Linked DNA regions of Homo sapiens: all the other regions are linked to region 1. Evidence: promoter capture Hi-C in human tissues and cell types (Jung and others, 2019). All regions are on one chromosome and are shown on one strand. Each heading gives the region's core, a stretch centred on a gene start or on the middle of the fragment in contact. The rest is flanking DNA. Distances are from core to core; before and after follow the strand shown.

The links. The method cuts DNA at HindIII sites, captures the fragments that hold promoters and counts their contacts. A contact is called where the count stands out against the background at its distance.
Region 2: a fragment that was not itself captured here is called in contact with the fragment with the promoter of PLK1 in region 1 in 2 of the 25 tissues and cell types used here (dorsolateral prefrontal cortex and lymphoblastoid cells).
Region 3: a fragment that was not itself captured here is called in contact with the fragment with the promoter of PLK1 in region 1 in 2 of the 25 tissues and cell types used here (hippocampus and lymphoblastoid cells).
Region 4: a fragment that was not itself captured here is called in contact with the fragment with the promoter of PLK1 in region 1 in 1 of the 25 tissues and cell types used here (dorsolateral prefrontal cortex).

What each region holds. Positions count from the first base shown.
Region 1 is chr16:23,677,355-23,680,342 of GRCh38, forward strand. PLK1 (polo like kinase 1) reads left to right here and starts at 1,535. Exons shown (of 10, transcript NM_005030.6): 1 at 1,535-1,986; 2 at 2,730-2,898. The coding sequence starts at 1,579. DCTN5 (dynactin subunit 5) reads left to right here. Exons shown (of 6, transcript NM_032486.4): 6 at 1-118. The HindIII fragment of the contact is 4,791 bases long and covers 1-2,171 here.
Region 2 is chr16:24,068,679-24,071,391 of GRCh38, forward strand. All of the region lies in intron 5 of PRKCB (protein kinase C beta), which reads left to right. Among named protein-coding and RNA genes, the nearest start is that of MIR1273H, 130 kb to the right of the region's middle. The HindIII fragment of the contact is 4,818 bases long and covers 1-2,713 here.
Region 3 is chr16:23,966,699-23,969,494 of GRCh38, forward strand. The region is part of intron 2 of PRKCB (protein kinase C beta); the gene reads left to right. Among named protein-coding and RNA genes, the nearest start is that of PRKCB, 130 kb to the left of the region's middle. RefSeq lists an enhancer at 1,284-1,413. The HindIII fragment of the contact is 6,673 bases long and covers 1-2,796 here.
Region 4 is chr16:24,149,044-24,152,204 of GRCh38, forward strand. The region is part of intron 9 of PRKCB (protein kinase C beta); the gene reads left to right. Among named protein-coding and RNA genes, the nearest start is that of MIR1273H, 52 kb to the right of the region's middle. The HindIII fragment of the contact is 4,819 bases long and covers 1-3,161 here.

The DNA.
Region 1 (2,988 bases), core at 285-2,784:
ATTTGTTCAGTTTGTGAAAATTCACTGAGCTCTATGAACAATTATAATATGTACATTTTTTTCTGTAAGTGTATTAAATTTCAATAAAAAGAATTCACACTATAGGGGTACAAAATAACTTAATTTTTCAAAGTCTTCCTTTTATTCAGCCAACATTTTAGTAAGTACCCTTTTTTTTTTACCAAGCACTGCTCTGGGAGCTTGGGACATGGGGTAGAAAGGACGGCATCATTGTCCTCATTGTCCTTCAGCTTAGCTGCAAGGCAGGTGAAGGATGCTTATAGTATGGTTGATTTTTGCTGGGCTCTATGAAGGATCAGAGGGTGCTAAGGAGGCACAGAGAAAGAGCTTTTAACGTGGGTATTTTACTGTTCCAGGGTTGCCACTCAAGTACCTACAGAACAAACGGGTGTAGCTGTAAACTGTGGCAAACTGAAAGCATGTAGGCACAGAGTAAGTAGCTAGAGCTGATTTTTTTCAGGAAAGGCCACAAATCCCAACTTTTATGAGCTCCTCTTTTAAATGCTGTAAATGTTTTACAATGGCGGGGCGCGGTGGCTCACGCCTGTAATCCCAGCATTTGGGAGGCCGAGGGGCAGATCACTTGAGGTCAGGAGTTCAAGACCAGCCTGGCCAACATGGTGAAACCTCTTCTCTACTAAAATTACAAAAATTAGCCGGGCATGGTGGTGCATGCTTGTAATTCCAGCTGCTAGGGAGGCCGAGGCGGGAGGATTGCTTGAACCCGGGAAGCAGAGGTTGCAGTGAGCTGAGATCGTGCCACTGCACTCCAGCCTGGGCGACAGAGCAAGATTCCGTCACACACACAAAAAAAAGGCGTGGGGGGAGGCCAAACAAAACCCCGCAAGACACATTTGGCTATGACCTGCCAGTTTGCTAGGCATTCTTCCAACCTTCCCTCCCTCTGACCAAGAAACTGAGTGTCCACTATTTTAGGCCCTGGGAAATTCAGTAGCGAGGAGGCCAGACAGCTTCGTTGCATCATGGGGGGCTCTGGTACTGTGCTTCTCCAACTTCAGGATGTGTAGGAATCACCTGAGCAGTCTTGTTGAGAGGCGGACACTGACTCGGGAGGTCTGGGGTAGGGCCTGAACGTTTGCCTTTGCGGTTCTAACAAGCTCTCAGGTGATGGCGATGCTACTGTTCCCTGGCCCCGAGGTAGAGGAAGATTTAAGTAAAAGCTTCCTGGAGGAGGCGCAAGTGAACCGCAGGAGCTTTCCCGGACGCCCGAGAAAGGGAGAAACCCCGAAGGAATTCCTCCTCTCTCGGGGCTGGGTCTCCGCATCCACGCCGGGTTTGGTTTCCCAGGCTATCCCACGTGTTCGGGCGTCCGTGTCAATCAGGTTTTCCCCGGCTGGGTCCGGGTTTAAAGGCTGCTGCTGCGCAGGGCGCTCCCATGGTGCCGCGCGGCGGGCGGGTTTGGATTTTAAATCCCCGCGGCCAATCAGTGGCGCGCAGGCTTTTGTAACGTTCCCAGCGCCGCGTTTGAATTCGGGGAGGAGCGGAGCGGTGCGGAGGCTCTGCTCGGATCGAGGTCTGCAGCGCAGCTTCGGGAGCATGAGTGCTGCAGTGACTGCAGGGAAGCTGGCACGGGCACCGGCCGACCCTGGGAAAGCCGGGGTCCCCGGAGTTGCAGCTCCCGGAGCTCCGGCGGCGGCTCCACCGGCGAAAGAGATCCCGGAGGTCCTAGTGGACCCACGCAGCCGGCGGCGCTATGTGCGGGGCCGCTTTTTGGGCAAGGGCGGCTTTGCCAAGTGCTTCGAGATCTCGGACGCGGACACCAAGGAGGTGTTCGCGGGCAAGATTGTGCCTAAGTCTCTGCTGCTCAAGCCGCACCAGAGGGAGAAGATGTCCATGGAAATATCCATTCACCGCAGCCTCGCCCACCAGCACGTCGTAGGATTCCACGGCTTTTTCGAGGACAACGACTTCGTGTTCGTGGTGTTGGAGCTCTGCCGCCGGAGGGTGAGTGTCGCTGCTGGGGAACTGGAACTGCCTGCGGGGCAGTTGGAGCGCCCAGACCTGGAGCTGCTGGAAAGAGTACCCAGCAAGGGAGAGCCTGGGACTTGGAGCTGCTAGAGAAGGGTGCTGGGAGCCTCCCGCTTACGTATGGAAAGTGTCTTTGGTAAGGGCTTCTTGGCTCTGGGAGCTGCTAGAGGAGGGGGTTCCAGTGAAGTGGAGTCTGAGTCATGTTGCTGATAGGGAAGTCAGCTTCTGGACGCGAGGTGCTGGGGGGAGGGGTGCTGGTAATGGACGCTAGGGCCCTGGAGTACCCAGGGAGGAGTCCCAGGTTAGTGATGCCGCGCCCTGGGAGCTTCTGGGGTGGAGCTGGGTCAGTGGGGGGGTAGTTGGAGCCAGACTTCGGGCCTTCCGGGGGAGATACGAGTCAGGAAAGGGATCTGGTGCTGGGGACTCGGAGCTTCCGGAGTGGGGCTGAGAGAGGACCCCCAGGTAAGGGGGGAAGCTAGTAGGAGAAGGGGTGCTGCGAATGGTTGTGGACAGTGTTAAGGCAGGGTCCAGATGCCGCTGTGCTGGAGAAGGAATGGGGTGGGGGCATAGGGAAGGAGAGAAACCCACCAAGACCCCTCTTTCATCCCTTGGGAGTCCAGAGTCCAGTCCTGTGCTTCCTTTGCCTGGTAACCCTCTCCCTTCCCCACCGGCCTCAATCCACCTCCCCATCCCTCCTGCCCTCTCCTTCCCACCCACAGTCTCTCCTGGAGCTGCACAAGAGGAGGAAAGCCCTGACTGAGCCTGAGGCCCGATACTACCTACGGCAAATTGTGCTTGGCTGCCAGTACCTGCACCGAAACCGAGTTATTCATCGAGACCTCAAGCTGGGCAACCTTTTCCTGAATGAAGATCTGGAGGTGAAAATAGGTGAGTTGCTGAGCCTGCAGGGGTGCTTGACATCACTACAAGAGGCTGGAATTTGGAGGAGGCTGGGAGAAAGGAAGGAGACAACCCACA
Region 2 (2,713 bases), core at 78-2,577, 390 kb after region 1:
AAAAATTGAATGTTAACATGGAAAAAGACCAGAAGGTGAATATACAAATGAAAGCATTTATTTAATTTTGGGATAAGATCTAAGGTAATATTTGTTTGGTTCAGAAAATTATTTTTAAAGAAGGGTGTTGTGAGCATCAGTGATAGAGTGAGGAATCCTCATTTCTTTCAGATCCTGGTAGGGGACCCTGAGAACTTTGGGGAGTGAAGATAGTGAAGTAAAGGTTGCTAAGCATTCTGCTAGAACACTATGGAGACAGCGATATAAAATAAGAGCCAATAATAACAAAGTAGCACATAGTGAATGTTTACCATATGCCAGACATTCTATTAATTTATAATGATTGTAACATTCCTATGAGCCAACATCCTTATCATTAGCCCCATTTTTTAAACAAGGAGACTGAGTTACCGAGAAGTTAGGTAACTTTCAGGTCACAAAGCTGCTCTATGGCAGAGCTGATCTGCCAGGATCTCTGGGTTTAAGCTCCTCACCATCACACTTGACTAATTTGGTATAGAAAGTGGCTTTAGATCAGATAAGGGTACATGAAATGCAGGAGGTGCCGTGTTAGAGGACAGTTTGGTCCAGTCCCCATGTCCTGGGGCAAATGAAGCAGATGGCCTCAGAACAGCCTGTTTTTAAATCATGTAAGACTGACTTCTTTCAGCTGCTGGATTCCTGCCTCCCAGAGTGAGACGTTGAAGTTTGGCCCGGAAGAGGCTGAGCACTGGGGACGAGCAGTGCTGTGCTGTGTATAGAGTGCTTAAAACAGTGCCTGGGTCTGAGCGTGGTGGCTCATGCCTGTAATCCCACCTCTTTGGGAGGCCATGGTGGGAAGATTGCTTGAGCCCAGGAGTTTGATTTCAGCCTGCAACATAGTGAGACCCCATTTCTACAAAAAATTTTAAGAAGTAGTCAGGCATGGTCGTACACCTGTAGTCCCAGCTACTTGGGAGGCTGAGGTGGGAGGATCACTTGAACCCCAAAGGTTGAGGCTGCAGTGAGTCGTGATTGCACTACTGTACTCCAGCCTGAGTAACAAAGCAAGACTTTGTATCAAAACAAAACAAACAAAACAAAACAGTGCCTGGCATATAGTATGTGCTCAATAAAAGTTGTCATTGTTATTGTCATGACATCATCAGAGCCTAGAACAAATCACAAAACCTGTATATTCTCTCTGGGCTGGAGGTCTTAAGATTCTTCTCCATTCCCAACGGGTACTCCCGAGATGACGTGATTCATGGCCATTCCTTCCTTCCTTCAGTGTGTGGCTCACACTGTGCTGGGCTATGGCGTCACCACTGTCAATACGACAAATAAATGGATAATTACAGCAAAGTGTTAGGACTGCTGTGCCAGACACGAGTGCAAGGTGTCCTGGGCAACCAGGGAAGGGACGTTAACTTACACTGGGATTGGGGCCCTGTGATGGTAAGCTTTTCATCTTGCAGGAAACCAGGGGATTTTTTTTTTTTTTTTTTTGAGACAAGGTCTTGCTCTGTCGTCCAGGCTGGAGTGCAGTGGCACGATCTTGGCTCACTGCAACCTCTGCCTCCTGGGTTCAAGCGATTCTTGTGCCTCAGTCTCCCAAGTAGCTGGGATTACAGGCATGTGCCATCACTCTTGGCTAATCTTTGTATTTTCAGTAGCGACGGATTTTTGCCATCTTGGCCAGGCTGGTCTCAAACTCCTGACCTCAAGTGATTCGCCTGCCTCAGCCTCCCAAAATGCTGGAATTACAGGCATGAGCCGTTGCGCCCGGCCTTGAAACCAGGGAATTTAATGACATTTAAAAATCATTTATTAAGTATATATGAAATATATAGAAAATAGTATCCCAGGCACCTAATAGAACAGAATAATAATAATGACTAGGAGTTGTTGAGTGTAAAATAGGTTGCAGTCATTACAACGCATATAATAGCATGAAGTATATAGCTCCTCAGCCCTCTCAGCCATCTTATGAGGGAACACTGTTGCTATTCTCATATTACAGATGAGGAAACTGAGGCTCAGAGAGGTTAAGTAATCCTCCAAGCCTCCGCAGCCAGGAAGTGGTATCACTTTGAACTCAAACTCAGGTCTGTTTGATCCTGAGGCCAAGCCCTTGGCCAGAAAAATTAGGAAGTCATAGTCCCTTCCCTTAAGGAGCTCTATTTAATATAGCAGAACAAGTAAAGCAAGTACATATCTCTCTAAAGTATACTGTGTCACTGAAGATAAGAAAGGAAGAAATCCTGTGATGGGTCAGATGAAGTCAGGAAAGGCTTCTGGGAAGAGGTGGCCTTATAGATCTAACTAGAAGGATGAATGAGCTTTGGGCCAAAGGCAAGGGAGGGAACCATCTGGACAAAGGGTAGTTAGTACACACTGTGACCTGAAGAGGGAGCTCAAAGCCCCCCTCCACTCCAGGGCTGATGTGAGGATGTGAGTTAAGGACTTGGATGCTGCTCTTGGGGCTTTCAGAGATAGGGGAGGAGCTTAATGACCTCGTCTTCATGATATACCCTAAGCATTCTCTCTTGGCTTTCCATTTGAGACTTACTCTGCCTTCAGACCTCTCAGAACTCTGCATATCTGGTATGGTAAGAGGAGCCTGAGCTACCTCTTCTCTGCATTGCCTTGAAAACAAAACATGGCCGGGCACGATGGCTGACGTCTGTAATCCTAGCACTTTGAGAGGCCAAGGCGGGTGGATCGCTTGAGC
Region 3 (2,796 bases), core at 71-2,570, 290 kb after region 1:
AGGTGTGGATTTCTGTGAACTAGAGAATGCAAGGCTGTCTGAAAGGGGAACTATTCCTTATTCATGCATCACATATACACTGGTGTGCCAAGCCCTGTTCTGCATCTGGGGACACAGCAGAGAATGAACCGGGCAAAATTCCCTGCCCCCTTGGAGTTGATGTTGTAGTGGACTAAGCTCTGATGACTCTGTTGCTGCATGAGAATGTGGGCCCACTGCTGACAAAACTTCTGATTTTTCTGTAAGAAAAGCCGGAAACCTGGATTTGTAAAAACCGTGAACTCTCCTAGCTTAAGAATTGGCAGTGGTTTCCATTTTTTTTTTTTTTTAAAGCACAGTACATGCTGTGAACCCAAGAGCCAGTTTGCAGCCCCTGCCTTAAGACACTCCTCTAATTGCTCTGGGAGGAGGCCTGTCTCTGCCCTGCAAATCAGCAGCTGGTCGGATTTCAAGGTCGTTGGTGTGGAGGGCGCCTCCTCCCTCTCCTGCGTGGAGGTTATTGTGGCTTTTTCTGCCCACAGAGCAGATGACGCTGCCACCAGGCAGTGAGTTAGAATATTCCTTCTCTTATCCTTCCTTTTGGATGGTGGCCTTGGCTGGGTTCCCAGCCCCCTGACAGCAGAAGACAAAAGGATGGAAGCAGCTTCCTCATAGTCACCCATGGGGGCGATAGGGTGGTGATGGTGATGTGGAGAAAATGCATTGGGTCAGGACAGCCACCTTTGAAGCCAGAAAATTAATGATCTCTGTTGCCTGAATCTTTTCAAAGTGGAGAAGTAATTTAAAAGCTTGTGTGGGAAGGATTGAGAATGGGATTGAGAAAAGAAGTTTAGGTTGCTATCAGGAACAATTCCTAACAGCAGGAGGTTTTTGGAGAGGCAGTGGTGAAATTCCTTGGAAATTTTTGTGTGGTGTCTTTTTTTCTTTTTTCTTTCTTTCTTTCCTCTTTTTTGTTTTTGTTTTTCTTTTTTTGAGATAGAGTCTCATTCTGTCACATAGGCTGGAGTGCAATGGCACAACCCCGGCCCACTGCAACCTCCACCTCCCAGGTTCAAGAGATTCTCCTGCCTCAGCCTCCCGAGTAGCTGGGACTACAGGCACCCGCCACCATGCCCAGCTAATTTTTGTATGTTTAGTAGAGACAGGGTTTTGCCTTGTTGGCCAGGTTGGCCTTGAACTCCTGACCTCAAGTGAGGTCCACCTGCCGTGGCCTTCCAAAGTGTTTGGATTATAGGCGTGAGCCACTGCGCCGGGCCTTTTATGGTGTCTTTGAAGTGCTTGTTTAAATTTACATGTGGTTGCCTCTCAGTGGGGTGCATGCTCTCTGGTTTTCCCCAAGCCCCACCACTCCCTGTTGTGCTTTACCCACTTGCCTGACTTAGTTATGCTTACTGGCCTGGCCTTTGTGGGTCTTTGAGTTTGTGCCTTCTGCTCTGAAGGAAGCATGCTTGAGATGATGGAATCTAGGTTCAAACCTACCTGCCCTATCTGCCCTTTACTGACTTGTGTGACTGTGGACAAGTTCCTCCACCCCTGAGGTTGTCAGGACCCTGCAGGAAATAGAACCATTCAGGTGGCTGCAAGAAGAAAGTTTCATGAAAGGACTATTTAGGGAGACTTGGGCAAGGTTAAGATTACAAATAAGGAATGTGGAAGCACCTAGGGCCTTGCAACAGCAGGAGGCGGTTACCGTCTGTAAAGAGGAAGAAGCAAGCGGAGGGAATAGTTTGGAGCCTATTGAGAGCTGGGGCTAAGAAGGAAGGCATCGCCAGCAGGAACCATGGTCCTGGAGGGATGAACCGCTTCCCAAATAGCAGTACCGAGGCAGGGAGGAAGAGGGGGAAGAAACACCCCAGCTTCTCTTCACCTCTCCCATTGCCTGTTGGCCTCACCCACTGGCTGAACCCAGCTGGAAACCAGAAGGACCAGATGATGAATTCTGTAAGGGTCAGCCTTTTGGGGCTCAGCTCACAGCAGAATCAGAGAGAAAAAAATGGATCTGAGAGGTGAAACAAGGAACAAGCAGCACGTAACTCTCAGCTTCCCTACCTTGAAAGTGGAGGAGAATGAGATAACTGACCTTGGAAGGTTATTGGGTGGCTCATGTACTCTCGAAGGGAAGGGCCTGGTCAATATTAAGTACTCATAAATGCTGAGATTCAGTGTGGGTTTCAAACCGTTTCTAGGAGCTAAAGGTCCTGAGAAAGGGCTTCAGTTTCAGTATCAAGAGACATTCTCAGGTGGGCAGATCTCTTGAAGCCAGGAGTTCGAGACCAGCCTGCCCATCATGGTGAGACCCCATCTCTACTAAAAATACAAAAATTAGCTGGATGTGGTGGTGGGTGCCTGTAATCCAAGCTACTCAGGAGGCTGAGGCAAGTGAATTGCTTGAACCTGGGAGGCGGAGGTTGCAGTGAGCTGAGATCGCGCCACTGCACTCCAGCCTGGGCGACAGGGTGAGACCCTGTCTCAAAAACCAAAACCAAAAAGACATTCTCCTCCTTCCCCTGCAGTGGGGCCCACTGGGAATGGTTGCATCTTCCATGGGGAGTTTAAAGTGAATGTGTAGTGGCTAAGAGCAAAGACCCTAGAACCAAGTAGGTGGACACTGTGGTAGTCCATCAGTGTGGTAGACACTGATCTTTCTGTTACTATAGATTAATGGCCTTGTACAGTATGCACTATTTTGTGTCTGCCTTCTTTCACTTAAAATAATGTTTTTGAGACTCACGCATGCATGTGCCTGTATTGGAGTCTATTGAGAGCTGGTTTCCAGTCCTGATTGCCACTGACAGT
Region 4 (3,161 bases), core at 353-2,852, 470 kb after region 1:
CCTGCACTGGCTGGAGCACCTGGGGCTGCCTGGTCATCAAGCTTATCAGGTAGTACCAGGGTTTCTTCATGGGGTCTTGTTCCCTGGTCTAGCATTGTGTCTTGGGGTAGAAAGGAAAGAAACTGACAGAAGCTACAGCCTCAGAAGTCTTGCAGGGTCTCTTCACCACATTCTGTTCATTAAGGCAGCCGCAGTGCCTGCCCAGGTTCAGAGACTCTGGCTCTGATTGGAGGAGTATCAAATATTTGTAGACATGTTTTAAAACCTCTATAAAGTATCACTTCCTTCGTGCTATGGGGACAGCTCTCAAAATGTAACTCCAAGAGAGGACAGAGAGATTTATATCGAAAATGAAAGCTTGATTAGAATATTAAGAAGAAAAGGAAAGTTTTCTCTCATCCTATTAATGACTGCTGAGAAAGTGTTAGGAAAATCAGGATGGAAGGATTCTGTCAGCTTTACCTACTGACATCTCCTAGCCACCTTATTAAATGAATCAATTTTGATAATATCTGGTGATTATAATCAACATAGGAAGAATATGTTTATTAAAATGCAGACTCCCAGGTCACAGCCCAGAGCTCCTGAAGGAGAGGGAGTGCTTGGAATCTATATGGTAAGCAAAGACCCTCAAGTGATTCTGACATAGGCAAGAGGCACTGTCCTTTATAAAGACTGGAATTTGCCTTGTTTTAGGTCACATACTGACATGATGCTACTTGGCTTCATGTATTTTAATTATTAGTAAGAATTTGAGCTACCTATGTAATAATTTTGTTTTAGGGATCTCTAAGATACATAATCCATTCAAAGTAATATAAATAAAAATAACTTTATTGGAGGAACATAAAGGTTTCAAACAGAAAATGGCTAAGCCTCATGAGAGATTGGAAACTGAAAGCAAGGCCTCTGCTTGTTCTCTTACCTTCTTTGTTTTTTTCCCCCTGCCTCAAACATCTATTTTATTCCTCTTTGCCTGCACAGTGGTAGAAAAGGACCACGCTAGGCTGAGTGTGGTGGCTTACGCCTGTAATCCCAGCACTTTGGGAGACCTAGATGGGCGGATCACTGAAGGTCTGGAGTTTGAGAACAGCTGGGGCAACATGGTGAAACCCCATTTCTACTAAAAATACAAAAATTAACCAGGTGTGGTGGTGGACGCCTGTAATCCCAGCTACTTGGGAGGTTGAGGCAAGAGAATTGCTTGAACTCGGGAGGAGGTGAACGAAGATCATGCCACTGCACCCCAGCCTGGGCAACAGGGTGAGAATCTGTCTCAAAAACGAAAAACAGAAAACAAAACAAAACAAAACAAAAAAGGACCACTCTAGGAAGATCTGTGTATTCTCTGTTGAGGGACCCAGGACTGACTCCTCAGAGTACCCTAATTCAAATTCTTGGGAGGGGGAATCCGATTGGCTTGGCTCAGGTTGAGGAACTTACCTCTGATCCAATCAGCTGTGACCAGCTGTATCCACTGCCCAATCAGAAGGTTCTTCTAATAACACAGAGTTGGAAGAAGTGAAAGGCATGCTAGGGTTTTCATTTCCAAATTAAACTGCAGTCATTTTTTATCATGTGGTTACTCTTATTTTCCCTGATCTTCTTGAAACACTTGTTGCAAAACAAGGGTCAGCAAACTATTGGAGCCCAGGCTATTGCTTATTGTTGTAAATAAAGTTTTATTAGACTACGGCCACACTCATTCTCTTGATCCAGACCGTCCCGCAAAGCCTATAATATTTCCTGTTTGGCCCTTTATAGAGAAAGTGTCCTGACTCCTGCTCTAGAATTCAGTTCGCTTCTATGTCTAAATTTTTGCTATGCCTTATGCATGCCCGTTCTGTTTTCCGTTAATCAGTATAGGGCATGTTGTTGAGGGCAGGGCAAGACACTGGGAATCTTCACACACCCCTGTTTATTGATTTTTAAAACTATCTGTACAAATGCAATAGTATCTCCTACGATGCGGAGCACATAGCATTGCTGATTTGCAAGAAGATTTCAACTGCTACTTGAGATTGTTTTAGGTGCCGTGTAGTTGCACTATGAAATAAAATTAAATCACGTTATGATAAGGTTATTTCTGTGTCTCCTTTTACTCTTTCTAATTACTTGAACAAGCAAATCTCATTTGATGACAATATGCTCTCTAACAACTTTCTAATACAATTTTTTCCTTTAACAAGGAGAAGATGCAGAGCCTGACTCAGAACCTTCAGCAGCCAGCAGTATATAGCTAGAATTTACTGGCACCGCTTTGCTTTTATTTATTTTTATGCTTATCTTCCATTTATGACTTGTGATACTGGCTTGCCATTAATAGTGGTGATATAAAGTTTCCTTTTCAAATTTAGTTAAGTTGAAATGTGACTAGATTTTTAAAATGCTAAGCAAATAACAGTTTAGGTGGCAGGAAGAAATGTGAAAAAACGGATATGAATGATTGAAGTGCGGAAATGCCTGAGCTACAGTAACTGACATAGTTACAAAGCAGCCCTGGTGCCCAGAGGAGGTAGTGGCCGATTTGGTCTGAATGGAACCTCCAGATTAGAGGAGGAGATAACAGCCCAGTGGAATCTCAGATTTTCAAAGCAGTGCAAGAGCATGGAAGGACGTCATAGACAGTGGGAGTCGAATGTTCAAAGGAAAAGAAAGAACAGGATGTGGTCATGGAATTGTTTGGCTTTCAAGAGCCACTGAAGGGCTTTCAGCATTCAAGTGGCACAGTCAGAGCTGCATTTTCAGAACAGTCATTAGCTGAAGCAAGTTAATCTCCCTGAGCCTCAGTGTGTTTATCTACGAAATGGGGGTAATTGACACAGATGTAGGATGTCCACCCCTGTCCCTGGTGAAGGGGGAAATTCCCAGCCATTCTGCCCTGTCTCTCTTCCATGTGGAAGGCTAAGATGTCCTATCATGACTGCATCTGCACTGAAGGTGTCTAGGGCCCCTCCTTCTCTCGTTTTGGTTGGGGGAATGGGAGATAGTTGCAGATATTCAGGATTGTTGGATGGTGCCTTGACCGGTGGTGATGGGTCAGGGAGAGTGTATTAGTCCGTTTTCATGCTGCTGATAAAGACATACCCGAGACTGTGTAATTTATGAAAAAGAGGTTTAATGGACCTGGGGAGGCCTCAATCATGGTGGAAGGCTAAAGT